Regions from separate parts of the Homo sapiens genome. Here all the other regions are linked to region 5. The links are contacts of gene promoters, found by promoter capture Hi-C in human tissues and cell types (Jung and others, 2019). All regions are on one chromosome and are shown on one strand. The core of a region is centred on a gene start or on the middle of the fragment in contact, and the rest is flanking DNA. Distances in the headings are between cores, read along the strand shown.

Region 1 (2,729 bases), core at 144-2,643, 1.3 Mb before region 5:
GGAAATCAAAATGCAGAGTTCAGTCACCTGGGATGAAATATAGAGTGGGCTAAAGAGGCTTTTCACCATTTGCAAATGATCAGTGAGATCTTGAAACAAAACAAGGAGTTGATAGGAGAAAACAAATCGGAAATTTTGCTCTGAATGAGAATTTTTTTAAAAAGATAATTATCACTTGTAAATCTTAAAGTCATCACATTTTTATTTCAGCTATTTTGTAGGTATGCTATTGCTAAGAGTGTGAAGAAGTGAAATATTTGTTACTCTAAGTAGTGACAGAAAAACATTAAATGTTAAGGAACATGGTTGCAGGCGTAGGAATGAAAATTGAAATTTTTAGTCAATTATCTAAATTTTTACAAATAGTTCTGCATGCTTGGCTTATTGACTACTCTTATCAATTTTTGGCTAGAAATTTGGCATCGTGCTATATTTAAGCCAAGCTAGCTACAGTGAATGTGCTATTTGATATATTCCTTATGTCTGTGCTCTGGCTAAATATACATTTTTCAATTATAAAATTCTCCATTCCTACATAGAAAGAACATTACTATTATAAGCCAAAAAGAAATAAAGGAATGGGATGGACATGTATGTATTACAGGCACATATATATGGTCATGTGCATGATGTACTCATGAATGAATGATTTCATGTTCTTGAATTAAATGAGTTCCCCTTAGGGATGTTTTCATGGTGACCCCACTGCAACCAGCTGCAAAGCTTACCCTTTCGACCACTGTATCTATAGGAACCAGAGGTGCCATTAAAACCAGCAATGCTAAGTCCTTAGATTATGCCAATGAAAATAAATTTATTCACCAGAGTAAAATCACAGATGGCTTCCAGTCATATATTGTGGTTTGTGATGTTTTATGTCCAAGTCCCAATTTAGTTCATAAATATAGGTAAAAGGAACCAAACTAGAAAATTTGGTTCTGATTTTCCTGGGCTCCAGAGCCAGAGTCTTATTTAATTCCCCTGTCTGTCACTGATAGCTGAGTAACCTTGAGTAAATTACCTAGTCACTCTGATACCTCAATTTTTCCATCTGTGCTTTGGAAATATTATTAATAGGCACCTCATAAGTAAGTTTGTTAAAATTGTTTAATGAATATTAAACATATTAAATGCTTAGAATGATGTCTGGCACATAGCTAATATTCAAAAAATATTTTATTAGTGATAATGATGATGATAATAATGATAATAATTTCTACAACAAGAAAAAAGGTAACACTTATCTAGGAAACACAACTAAGGTGGAATAATAGATTTGTCCTACTCTTCCAAGGTTGGTATACACATTAATATTAGGTTGTCCTGGGGCTGGGTGAGGTGGCTCACACCTGTAATCCCAGCACTTTGGGAGGCCGAGGCGGGTGGATCACCTGAGGTCAGGAGTTTGAGACCAACCTAACCAACATGGTGAAAACCCATCTCTACAAAAAATAAAAAAATTAGCTGGGTGTAGTGGCACGTGCCTGTAGTCCCAGCTACTCGGGAGGCTGAGGCATGAGAATCACCTGAACCCAGGAGGCAGAGGTTGCAGTGAGCCAAGATCGTGCGGCTGCACTCCAGCCAGGGTGACAGAGTGAGACCCCCATCTCAGAAACAAAAACAAACAAACAAACAAACAAACAAAAATTAGGTTGTCCAGAATAAGAGTCACCGTTTAACCATTTACTAACTGTGTGCATAGGCAAATTATTTTATTTTCTATGTAATAAGATAATAACCGGTTACTGTGGCTGTTGTAAAGATGAAAATAGACCGTACACATCACTTGCTTAGTACCTTGTGTGGCCAGAAGGGCTGCTCCTAAGTTGTGTTATTCTCCAGGCCAAAAATTAAAAAAGGTCTCCTTTTTTATAACCAGTTTGATTTAAAATAATATTACAAACCTCAAGAGCCAGTTATTAAAAATTTAGAGAAAAGGGTAGAGAAGAAAATCTTACATATTTTTTCTTGTGTAATTAACGTGTGTGAAAGCTTTTCAGTGTCCAGGCACCATCTGTTCAGGTGCAAGAAACTTCTCTTTATGTTTTTTCTTTTACTTTTTGATTTTCAGAATTACCGGGTCTGACTAAATCACAACTCCCACTGTGAAAAAAGCTAGCAATGCTGATATTACTTACTCTGCCATGACTCTTCAGAACTTGTATATATTGATATAATATTGATGATCTTGCTTCTGAGCTTCCCTAGTACCATTTTGTAAAAGTCTAGTTATAATAGGACTTGTGTCACTTCATCATCCATTGCACTGTTTGTAGATATTGGTTTCCAGTAATTCTCTCAAAGGCTGTTTTTGTGCTTCATTGATGATGACCACGATTGTAAGTCTTACCCAGAGGATGCAGAAAATGTGAGGAATAACTTATTCCCTGATCATGTTAAGTTTACCGTTCAGAATTCTATAGCATACAAATAGAAACAATATATCTTCCAACCATGCTTTCTCATGAACTAATTGGGCTGTAACATTGCATTCCTAGAATGTGATCTCTTTCAATGTTGTCTGCATCCGTACCTTCCACTCACTTCCACTAGCTAGAAGGGTAGAAAAGGAGGAAGGCACTAAGTGAGAAAAATGGTCCTATTTGTACAAAAAAGTCTGTCCTTTGACCAGCATGGCCTAAATCTATCCAGAATTTCATGATGTGACCACATCAATTGGAGGCAATAAAGAACATTAATGGGAAGGCCCCCTTACTGTGTGGAGCAGT
Region 2 (2,700 bases), core at 185-2,684, 1.9 Mb before region 5:
CCCAATGCTGATGAGAAATGATTCTTTAATCTTTGTGTTATTTCTCTTGCCTTAGTAAAATGCATCAATAAACGTGACTATCTTCTGTGAGAAATGAACAGTGGTGCACACGCCAGCATATACCTGCACACACACACACACGATGTTTAAAAAAAAATTAGTCCTGTTTCTCAAGGAAATGGAAACTGTCTGGGTGTGTGGACCCTGGGAGATGGATACTTGAACCTTTATCTATTTTTTCCTTACCAAAAAGAAGAAGGAATTTCATATGCGTTTTACCATTTTCTTAGTTTTAGACAGCAATTTGCAGCCCCTGGTTATGCAATCTGAAGCTTTTGCTCAGATTCTCTTAGCAATGTGTGCATTTGCAAGGCCAGTTCTATAGGCCCACATGCATATACACACTGGCAAATTAAAAATGGACCTGGGAAAACACCCTTCTCCTAGGAGAGTCATATCAAGCAGTGTTTAAATTAAATAATTTGCAGAGTGTAGGGAATAAAGCTTTGTAGCAGTATCTGGAGGTTATCTTCCCTTGGGAAATTTCTGCCATTTAGTACAATCTGGTGCATGCCAATGAGACACACACTCATGCATACACACACTAGTAGATATATTTTATTTTACATCTAAATTATATTTATTTCTTTAGGTTATCTGCCATTTCATGTTCATGTTGAGGAGGAAAAAAAAAGAGACAAACTTCTTGTGAAGGGTTGAGGTCATTAAGATCCAAACAAAAGCAAAGAAAGGTTATTAGTGAGCAGAAATGAGGGAGGGCTGACTGTGGCGTAAAGCCAGTTACCCCACAGCTTCTGGGGGAGCATGGCTGTGATTGGGAGACTGATCAAGCTCAGGTCACTGATTTTGCTCCCAGCCCATTGACTGGTGGTAAAAGGGGAGCCATTGTTGTGATGAGATAATGTGAGTAGGTAAGCCACAACTAGCCGAAATTAGTTGATTTCTTGCTTCTTGTCTTCCTTAACCAATATCAAAGCCAAATTGCATGTTAAGGAGTTTGTCGGTTAGAACCTCATGCTATGTTTCTAGTTAATGCATTCCTCTATAGCCAAATGTATTCTTAGCGTAATCAGCATACCTGTCCACCTGTGGAGAGAATGAAGCCTGTCACATGTAAGGATGTTGAATGAAATGTTAGCAGGACAAGAGAGGGTTAGAGGGAGAGGGAGAGAGAGAACGCGCACAAACAGAAGAAGATATCTACCTCTGTACAGGTTATTTTGAAAGATCCTATTTATAAAAATTGGGATAGGCTCAAGTGAAAATAGTTATTTTTTCCATTTCCAAGATTATCTTTGTACCCTTTAGACTCCCACTTTTATCTTTTATGTAAGAAAATTCTTGCAAATTACTAGTAGCCGGTGTAGAAGCTGTGAGTTATAGTGCAACTCTCAGTGAATCCCGCATTCTGGCTCCCCCAATTCTTTGACAAAAATATACAGCTACTGGTGTATGTTAGTTTGCTTGGGCTGCCTTAAAAAATACCATAGACTAGGTGGCTTAAATGCAGAGATTTATTTTCTCACAGTTCTGAAGGCTGGAAGTCTGAAATCAAGGTGTTGGCATGGTTGGTTTCTTCTAAGGCCTCTTCCCTTTCTCTGCAGAGAACCACATTCTTGCTATGTTTCTCACATGGTCATTCCCCTTTATGCACAAATTTCCTCTTTTTCTAAGGATAGCAGTCACATTGGATTAGGGCCCATCTAAAGACCCCATTTTAACTTAATTAGCTCTTTAAAGCTCTTATCTCCAAATACTGTTACATTCTGAGGTACCGGGGCTTAGGCCTTCAACATATGAATTTCAGGGGAACGTAATTCAGACCATAACAACTAGACTTTCCAAGATAGTTGGTAGAGCTATAATTTTTAGATTTGTTTTTGCCTGTTTATCTAGAGATTTATTCTTCCCACTTTCCTTTCTTTTTCTGCATTTTTGTTAATACTGGACTGAAAGTAATTTGTTACAATGATTCTAGGTGGATGTGTTCTGTTGTTTTAAGAATGGTTTGGGGAAAGAAATAGAAAGCTTATTTAAGAAAACAAATCTTGCTTGATATTTTTTCTTTTAAATTCAAGCCGGCTCCATCATGTTCTCTGACCTTAGCAAGTTACTCAGCCACACTGTGCCTCCTCTTTCTCCTCTGTATACTGTGGATAATAAAAAGAAATTTTCGAAAGGTTGCTGGGAGGATTAATTGAGATAATACATGTAAAGTGTCTAGCATGGTCCCTGGATCACAGCAAGTGCTCCGTAAATAGTATTTATCCAATAACCATAATAACCACAGACACCTACAGAATTCTATGTTGTACACTGGTGCTGGACAAAATGTAATACCCTTTCTGAATTTCATTTGATTACAGACTTATTTCGTGCTTTTAGAAGTGGAGCTAGGAGCAGATTCCTTTTAAAAATTATTTTAAGTGGACTTTGACAGAGGCTTGGACTCACAAAGTGTAGATAAAGCACAGACAGGCTTTATTGTTATCTTCTGTTTCACCAGACCAAAAGAAAGATCTTTGGTTGATAAGCAGAGTTAGAAAAACAGAGAAGAGGGAGTGGCTGGGGTCTTCTGATACCTTGTGGGTCAGTAGGAACCCAGTTTCTTCTCTGGAGAATCTCAACCTGTGCAGCATGAGTAAACAGACCTGGCATGCGCCCTGTGGTCGTACGGAG
Region 3 (2,800 bases), core at 261-2,760, 1.5 Mb before region 5:
ATGTGAAAAATTTTGTTTAAAATTGGCATTTAATTAGCCAGATTTTCTTTTGTCCTCATCTTCCTGTAGACTTATGGAAAAGGGAACTACTCTATTTTCAAAAACATGAAAAAAAGAAAACCTAAACCAGCAATATAGAGAAACTGTGGTTCTCCCTGGGTCGCCATAACACCTCTACAGGTGTGCCCTTGACTTCTATTAAGAATCACCAGCTAAATAGGTGAAATACACAGCTGTATATTTCCACTGCAGCATCTTTTAGCAAGCAAGGGGCTGTGTCTAGGTGAATCAGAATATGCTGGCTGGTGGAGCTCAGACACAATAATGTGTTTTTTTCAGGAAAAATAAGTGTGACAGTGTTTATTTCACACACAATTGTTTGTCAGAGGACTTCAAAGGGGTGGGCAGAGATCAGTTAAGCATTGCCACCTGTCCCATAGGTTGTGCTTCTTCTTTTCAGGTGGGACTCTGAGGTCATTAGCACTGGGGTGGCTTATCCTCTGTTCAGCTCCTGTGCCACAACGTAAGACAGGAATCCTGCCAGGAGGAGGACTTGGGTCCTGGCTCCTAACCACCCCCGTTGGACTCCAGCTGCCAGTGCCGCCCAAAGAAGAGAGCATGCCGCCTGGCTTTAAGAAAGCTTGCAGCCCCTGAGAGTGGCAGGTTAAAAACCTATAGGGTGGTTCAATAAAAGGCAATGCCTTGCTCCGTCCTGTGCTGCTATTGTACATTGGAACACATGCTGCTAGGAGACAAAGAGGACACGCGTTTATTTTCAAGCGTAGGACTTTGGAACCACTTGGGAAGAATATTCTTGATTGAGAACCAAAACATTCCATGATGCTTAACAAACCTGCAAATTGAAAAATCAGCTTCGGCCTGTGCAGTCAGGAGGCAGGAAAAGGACCTATACCCTGAAAAAAAAAATCAAAATATTCCTTAAATGATATTTGTGTGCATTTACAAAGTTACCGCTTTCTGAATCAAAGTCTCAAGCTGTTTTCATCTGAGAACATATGTTGTGCTGTTAGACAATATCTCAGCCTGCCGCCATCCATGACATACCCTGCCGCATTGCATAATGGACAGTCCCTTGAAAAAGGAGCCGCAGCTCAGTCAATGCCCCTGTAATAATATTTTAAAATAAATGATATGCATCATTAAATCACTGAGGATGACTAACTCAATTTTAGAAAACCCACAACTCCAGCAATCATAGTTACAGCTCTGATTTGAATATTTTCACTTTCACCTGAGCAGCCAGTGGGAGCCAGTCAAGCAGATTGGGCATCCAGGCAGAGGAAGGCTGTGTCTCCGAGGAGCAGGAGGGAACCTGTGATTATGTAGTTACAGTAACGTCGGCTCATGCCTCGTGTCCGCCTGGGCTTTTTAGGCTTTTCCTTCCTCCCTTCTTGGCTTCTTATTTACATATCACAGGCATCCTCTTTGTAAAGTTATTTTAAATAATGTATTAGATTGATCTTTTTAAAATTCTACCATGGCTAAATGTCATAAGGAAAAAAAAATAAGTCTTCGAAACTTATTTAAAGGTTTCTACTGGAGTAGGCCAGTTACCTGCTTCACTGCTGATATTCTAAAAATACCTCCATGTCCATACTATTATCCATTCTTCACGTCCAATTGCTCTGTTATGGTAATAGTCAGAAGCACACCATGCAGTAATTACTTACAGCTGACTGAAGAAAAGAATATTCAACTCCCCCACTGTTCCACTAGAAGGTCTTTATGCACTATTAACTCATTCCTGTTTATTAATACTCTACTGGTAATTCAGACTGCTGCCTCTTAGGTTTGTAATAGGAGGACTATTAAACAGCAATTACTGACCATATGGGTTGGTGAATATTTGTTGTTTTTTGGTGGGCTTTTCCCCCCCTCCTTCCAACTTGTTTTTTAAGAAGCCATATTACAACATAGTAAAAGTATCATCACATCTGCATGAGATTAACAAGCTTGGCAGGATTTCTCCCTTAGAAAATGTGTATTTATTCCCAGATTATCATCGCTAGCTTAAGAAAAGGAGAACGTGGGAGAAACAGGAAAATGTGGGAGATTGTTCTCTTGTGAGAAGACCCCTACTTTGGAAGATATTTTGGATCTTATGTTTCCTAAGTCACTCTGTGGGATGTTTTCTTTTACTGACTTTGAAAGGACACTGACCCACTCTCAAACACCATCAGCTTCTCAAAGCAAGCATAGTTATTGAGGAATCCAGTCAAATACCACTCTCCATTTCAAGTTCCCCAAGTGTTTGAAAGGGATCACTGTAAAATTGATAATTTAGTAAATTTATCTCCCAAAAAGCAGGTATATGAACCCTGAGAGGTGACGAAGGGTTCCCCCTGGGAGAGGGATGGCAATGAGTAATGGGTTCAAGTGAGGCAAGCAGGTGGTAAATGATGATTATGGTAATAATAATGTGTGCCTCTCTCACAGGTAGTGAACACTGAGCATGTTGCAAGCATTAAACACATTTAAATGGAGATGCATCTTTAAGATAAATAGGAGCCCGGGAGCTAATTTTCATTGGAAATTGAAGAGTTGAGATCCAGGACAGAGAAGTCACTTGACCAGCAACCTCCACTAACATGATGGCAGTGGCTAGGTGTCTAGGCTGTTTGACATAGTAAGCTTTTGCTCCAAGGCAGCCAGTCTCCTTAGGGTCCCTTGTGCTTATCTTCTGATTTTTCCCCTTTTCCTATAAGGAGCCATTCTCTCTTTATGTCCAAATCTTTCTAGCCCTTCAATAAACAGATCAAATCCCACCCCTGACCCCAAA
Region 4 (2,702 bases), core at 82-2,581, 1.7 Mb before region 5:
TTAGCCCTTTAAAAAATATATTCCCTTTCCCTTCTTTTAAAAATATTTTGTCCCTTCTCCTCCCTGCCCTGACTGTATTAGAAGCTATCTGCAGAGGGCTGACTTCTAAGTCAGATAAACTAGAATGAAAGTACTGCCATTTACTAGTTGTGGCATCTGAGGCACCTGGGGATGATAATAATAATAATTACTTTATAGGGTTGTTGAAGGGGGTAAAAGAGGTAGGTTATATGAAGCATAAAACATATTATATGGGCTCATTAAATTCTTGTTCTGAGATTAATTTACTGATTCTTTTCTAAGGAAAGCTTTCTTTTTAAGGAGTGGAGGGAGAGAAAGACCTCTCCTTTTTTAAAACCAAGGACACATGTCCCCAGTTTTTGTCCCCCAAACTTATGGCCCCTTAAACTATTGAAGATTTTGTGAACTTTCATTTAATTTCATTCTTGAAGCTTAGTCAATTGTTTATTGCTTTCAGATCATTTTACTTAACAGACATTAATTGAGCTCCTATTATGTGTCAAATACTGTACTTGACACAATGAAGAAAATTTCTATTAACTTCTAAAATCCCTGTCTGCAGATCTGTGAAATAATTTTTTATACCATGGATTCATACAGTGTTCTTCCTTTCCCCATGTTCCCTATATGCCATCTTAAAAATTAAACTTGGGCAAGGGAAGAAAATATCTATGGAGAGAACCCAGTGGATTATAGCATTCAAAGTTACTTTCAACAGGCTGAACACCTAGGATACTGTTTGGGCAAGGTATGAGCCATGCCCAACTCATGTCATCCTATAGCTATCATGCTTACATTAACACATTGTTGTATACAAGTAACTATGCCTTACATCACATCATTTGATCCCCTTTGTCTTTATTATTAATAGATGTAGATCCACCACTTTAACTCATAGTCACCATAGTTTACCCCATTTTAAGTTTGTACATGCAATCCATTTAGCCATAAAACACATTATTCCAAAAGCAATATTTAGCTAGTCTAACAGTATTAACAGTCTACCACCAAAAATTCCTGACAAATTTGTTATTGTACAGGTCAGAGCATTCATAGTTTCTAACTAGGATAAAGCAGCTTACTTAGATTTACAAGACAAAAACAAAGCTGAAACAATTTTGCCTTGATGATACCAAAAACTCAGTAATTGCTTTTCTCTTCCCACTTGTAGTAATGGATAGCAAACGGATTATTATTGACATTGGTAGTTTCATCAAATTTTCAAATTGGGAGATACCAGCTAGTCACTTGTTCTTCAAATTGTGGTTTATGAGCCTGCAGCATTGGCATAACATAGGAGCTTGTTTGGAATGCAGAATCTCAGGCCCGCCCTAGAGCAACTGAATCAAGATCTGTATCTTCACAAAATACCCAGGTGATTTTTACACTCTTTAAATTTTTTGAAGCGCCATTCTAATCCACCTTCATCTCTGTCCTCCTTTAAGAAATGAGAAAGTTCACACTCAGAGTTAGTGTAGAGCTAAGATTAGAACCTCAGCCCCCTGACTCCAAGGTTACTGCTCTCTTCTGTGCTCAGAGCAACCTCAATAGCTTCTGAGTACAGTGTGGAAGTGAGTGACCCTTGCCCACCACTTGATGTTTGGTGGTCTAGTAAAGTAGACTGCAAGATTAGAGAATCACCTTCTCTTTAACCTCCATTCCTTTTCTGTGAGAAACTATTTGGCTTATCACCCCCTATGGCCTAAATCCTCCCAAAGAAGAGTGAAGCTTTAATGAGGCTAGAACCCTCTTATTGTCTTGAATTTTAGATGTTTGTCAGCATCTATGATAGGAATTCTTTCCCTAACTCACAGTTCATGGTTGTATAGTGCATCTCCATTCATACGAGGAGGATAGAAAAAGCTGAGCCAAACCCTGTTAACAAAACAGTCCCCCGAAGGGCTATAATATTGCTCAGTGGTAATATCATCCCTATGCATTTTATCTTATACATGAAATCTTGACTAATTATCATTTTCTCATACAGTACATTTTAGACCATTGTGTTTTTGTGTCCCTGCCTAGTTCATTAAGCAGGGTTTTACGGCTCCTCCAGTAACAGAATCGCTATTGACACTTTCATTAGACCCATAATTCAAATGCTTGTCTGCCTTCCAAATGGAAGCCTCTGAGTCCAGAACCACAATCTGGCCACCAACCGTATGTTGGCTTTTAGAACTGTCATAAACTCATCATCACATTCAAGTTCTTGAAGGGTCAAAATCTGCTTTCTTGGTGAACTGTCTTCATCCAACAAACAGTCAACGTGTTCTCCAGGAATAGTCAGCCAATTTTTCTCTGTCGCTCTCTGAAAACTCTTCCAGACAGTTCTCAGTGTGGTATGACTATAGCACAAATAATCAGTGTCCACATTTAAATATTAATTCTCTTATTTATTCATTCATTCAATTATTTTTACAATTTAAGACCAATATACCAAATATTATGGCAGTTGCTGTAGTGATTTAAAGATGAATAAGATGGTGTCTGCCTTGGAGTTTCTTATCGTCAGAAGATATGTATATAAATCACTATGTGAAAAATTTTACTTCTAAGTTGCCAACAGTTGGAACGGCGGTGATTGTAGATTTCTTTGCTCTAACTAATGGCTATTATCAACACTGGTTCTTTACCAGTGGTTCAAATGGAAATAGACTCGACTAGACTAAGTAGAACTATAT
Region 5 (2,700 bases), core at 75-2,574:
GCGGCAACCCAGGAGGCAGCAGTCCGGGCTCCCTCCCTCCCTCTCCCGCGTGCCCCCGGCCGCCTCCTCCCCCGGCCCTAGCTCCTGCCCTTCGGCGGCGGCGGCGGCGGCGGCGCGGGAGGGCAAGCGCGAGGAGCCGGCACAAAAGGCAGCGGGACAAACACCCACCTCTGGCCGGAACAAAAGGCGGCAGTGCCGGCCGCGTCTCCCGTCCTTCCCGGTCCCACGGCTCTCCCCGTCGCCGCGGCCCCTCTCCCGACTCCGCGGACTCAGGAGCGCCGGGGGCCCCTTTCCACAGTGCCACTTTCTCACTATTGTGGGGATGACTACTTTCCTCCCGCTGCACACTTGACCGTGAGCGCGCTGGTGTCCAAAAGCCAGTCTCACCTCTTTTCTCCCCGGGAATCGTTTTTTAGACTTGTACTCACTCCCTCCCTACCCCCCCATTTTCTTACGGTGAGTGGGAAGCAACCTCCCTTTCCCCACCAGCTCCCACCCCCAGGTTTGCATGTGAGTTGTTCGCAACCTTAGCATTGTTCATTATTTTGCAAAACTGGCGGGGCGGGGGGGGAGTGGAATCATTGCATTCCTTTTCGAAAAGAGAAATAAAGCGGCGGAAAGGAGGAAAGAGGAGGAGTCAAATTTTTGTAAAATTAAATAAAATTAAAAGGTGCGTGCTGTCTCAAAAGTGCATACACGGCAATGGTTCCAGATGGGATGAGGGTTTTTTCCCCCTTTATCTCTTTTACCTCGACTCTCGGAGGTTTTTCTCGTGAAAAATTTAAAAATGCATGCACACACCCCTCTCTCCCCCTCGCTTTTGCTTCTAGTCCTGCGCGCTCTCGTGATTATTAATAATTATTATTACTATTATTGGGTTACTTACGCGAGAATTCCCGTTTGCTTAAGTGCTGGGGTTTGCCTTGCTTGCGGCGAGACATGGTGGGCTGCGGGGCGGGCGGCGGCGGCGGCGGCGGCGGCGGCGGGCGGACGACGGCTCGGTTCACATCGGGAGAGCCGGGTTAGAAAGAAGGAGACTCCAGAGAAAATATCTTCATCAGTGCCTTTTGACATCCAAAATAAATTAGAAATAATACAAAGATGGCGCAGGGAAGATGAATTGTGGGAGAGCCGTCATGGCTTTTTTTTAAGCAAAAAAAAAAAAAAAAAAAAAAAAAAAAAGAGGGAGAGAGAGAGAAGAGAGATAGAGGGAGAGAGAGAGAGAGAGATGAAAAAAATGGCAAAAGCCCCCCTGAGCTGCAAGTTCAAGTGCGGACGTGACGTCCCTGCGAACTTGAACGTCAGGAGTCTGGATGGACAGAGACACACAAAACATGGGCAGGGCGAGCAGGAGAGAAGGGGAGGAGGGAAGGGGAAGCTCACACCAATGGACACACATCAGGGGCTGGACATGAAAAAGAGACCAGGACAAGCCAATGGCCAGTGCGGGGAGGGGGAGGTGCGGGGCGGGGGGCTCCGCGGACGCCAGACGCGGCCCCCGGGGGAGGGGCGGGCCGAGGGGAGGGGGCGCTGGGGCCGCGGGCTCACCAGTGGCCGCAGCGAGCGCCGCGGCGGTGGCGTGGCCGGGAGAGAAGAAAGGGGTGGCAGGGGTGGGAGGAAAGGGTGGGGGGGAGCAAGACGTGCGCCCTGCTCCCCCCCACACACGCGGACTCTAAAATGAAAGATTATTCAAAAAAGAAAAAAATAGAGCGAGAGTGCACCGGGAGGCTGCAGCCCCGGGCTGGGGAAGCGCGGGCGGAGGGAAGCCAGGTAGAGTTGCTCCCGGACACCCTCCTCCGTACGCACACCCACTTCCCCTCCCCGCCGCCGCCGCGCTCGCTCCCCGCGTGTGGACGCCAGGGGCCGAAGTAAAAGCCCCGAGCCCGCGGCTGCGCTCGGGAAACTTTGCCCGAGGAGAGGACAGCAAAGAAAAATCACCCGAAGTTGAGAGCTGAGCCTCCAAGTTACAGCTCCGCAGCGGGCGAGGGGAGGTGGGAGGGAGCGCACGGCAACGCGGAATCCAGCCTAAGTTTGGAGGGCTGCGGGTCCGGAAGGGCAGCGCCCAAGTCTCCAGGAGCCCGCGCGGCCTGGAAAGAGGGGACCGGGGAGAGGCAGGCGGCGCAGGCCGGGGCCCGAGGGCGCCCCCAAGGCCGAGCCAGGGACCGGGAATCTGAGCGCCCCGCCAAGCGACTGGGTCTGAATGCAACTGAAAGCGCCGAGTCCCCGGCTCCTAAGGGTCGCAGAAAGAGAGCCCGAGGAATAAAGAACGAGGAGCCAGAGTCTGGCCCCCGGAGGGGAGCGCCGGGGGCCTGGGCAAGAGAGGCACCGAGGCGTCCACCTCTCTGAGAGGCCGAGGACAAAGCGCGGGCAGTCCCGGGAGTCCCAGTCCCTGGGAATGTGCTCACGGCGCCGCGGGAGGTCCCCGAGCCGGGTCCCTGGGAGGGACACACCCCCTCCCACTCCAGAGCAACTGCAAAAGCACAGAGGGATGGGAAGAAAATGTTTCTTACGGGCAGAGCACAACTGTTCCTGTGCTGTTACCCAGGGAAAGAGAAAATGGGAATGGAGAGAGAGCGACAGGCTCGCAGGAGCAGCGGGGAGACCACGGTGGTGAGATGACCGCCTCGGGTCACCGCCGCGCTCCCCAGGCGCCGCCGGCCAAGGCGCACACCCAGGAGCCAGCAGCCCCCTCTCGCCTTT

What was found. The method cuts DNA at HindIII sites, captures the fragments that hold promoters and counts their contacts. A contact is called where the count stands out against the background at its distance.
Region 1: a fragment that was not itself captured here is called in contact with the fragment with the promoter of BCL11A in region 5 in 1 of the 25 tissues and cell types used here (dorsolateral prefrontal cortex).
Region 2: a fragment that was not itself captured here is called in contact with the fragment with the promoter of BCL11A in region 5 in 1 of the 25 tissues and cell types used here (dorsolateral prefrontal cortex).
Region 3: a contact is called between a fragment that was not itself captured here and the fragment with the promoter of BCL11A in region 5, in 1 of the 25 tissues and cell types used here (dorsolateral prefrontal cortex).
Region 4: a fragment that was not itself captured here is called in contact with the fragment with the promoter of BCL11A in region 5 in 1 of the 25 tissues and cell types used here (dorsolateral prefrontal cortex).

What each region holds. Positions count from the first base shown.
Region 1 is chr2:59,250,567-59,253,295 of GRCh38, forward strand. The region is part of intron 1 of LINC01793 (long intergenic non-protein coding RNA 1793); the gene reads left to right. All of the region lies in intron 2 of LOC105374754 (a long non-coding RNA gene), which reads right to left. Among named protein-coding and RNA genes, the nearest start is that of LINC01793, 34 kb to the left of the region's middle. RefSeq lists an enhancer at 1-254. The HindIII fragment of the contact is 5,585 bases long and covers 1-2,729 here.
Region 2 is chr2:58,657,579-58,660,278 of GRCh38, forward strand. The region is part of intron 2 of LINC01122 (long intergenic non-protein coding RNA 1122); the gene reads left to right. Among named protein-coding and RNA genes, the nearest start is that of LINC01122, 140 kb to the left of the region's middle. The HindIII fragment of the contact is 6,196 bases long and covers 1-2,700 here.
Region 3 is chr2:59,045,868-59,048,667 of GRCh38, forward strand. All of the region lies in intron 12 of LINC01122 (long intergenic non-protein coding RNA 1122), which reads left to right. Among named protein-coding and RNA genes, the nearest start is that of LINC01793, 170 kb to the right of the region's middle. The HindIII fragment of the contact is 4,193 bases long and covers 1-2,800 here.
Region 4 is chr2:58,845,962-58,848,663 of GRCh38, forward strand. All of the region lies in intron 2 of LINC01122 (long intergenic non-protein coding RNA 1122), which reads left to right. Among named protein-coding and RNA genes, the nearest start is that of LINC01122, 330 kb to the left of the region's middle. The HindIII fragment of the contact is 3,213 bases long and covers 1-2,702 here.
Region 5 is chr2:60,552,330-60,555,029 of GRCh38, forward strand. It overlaps BCL11A (BCL11 transcription factor A), which reads right to left and starts at 1,325. Exons shown (of 4, transcript NM_022893.4): 1 at 887-1,325. The coding sequence starts at 941. RefSeq lists silencers at 36-395, 1,805-1,894 and an enhancer at 2,585-2,634. The HindIII fragment of the contact is 9,532 bases long and covers 1-2,700 here.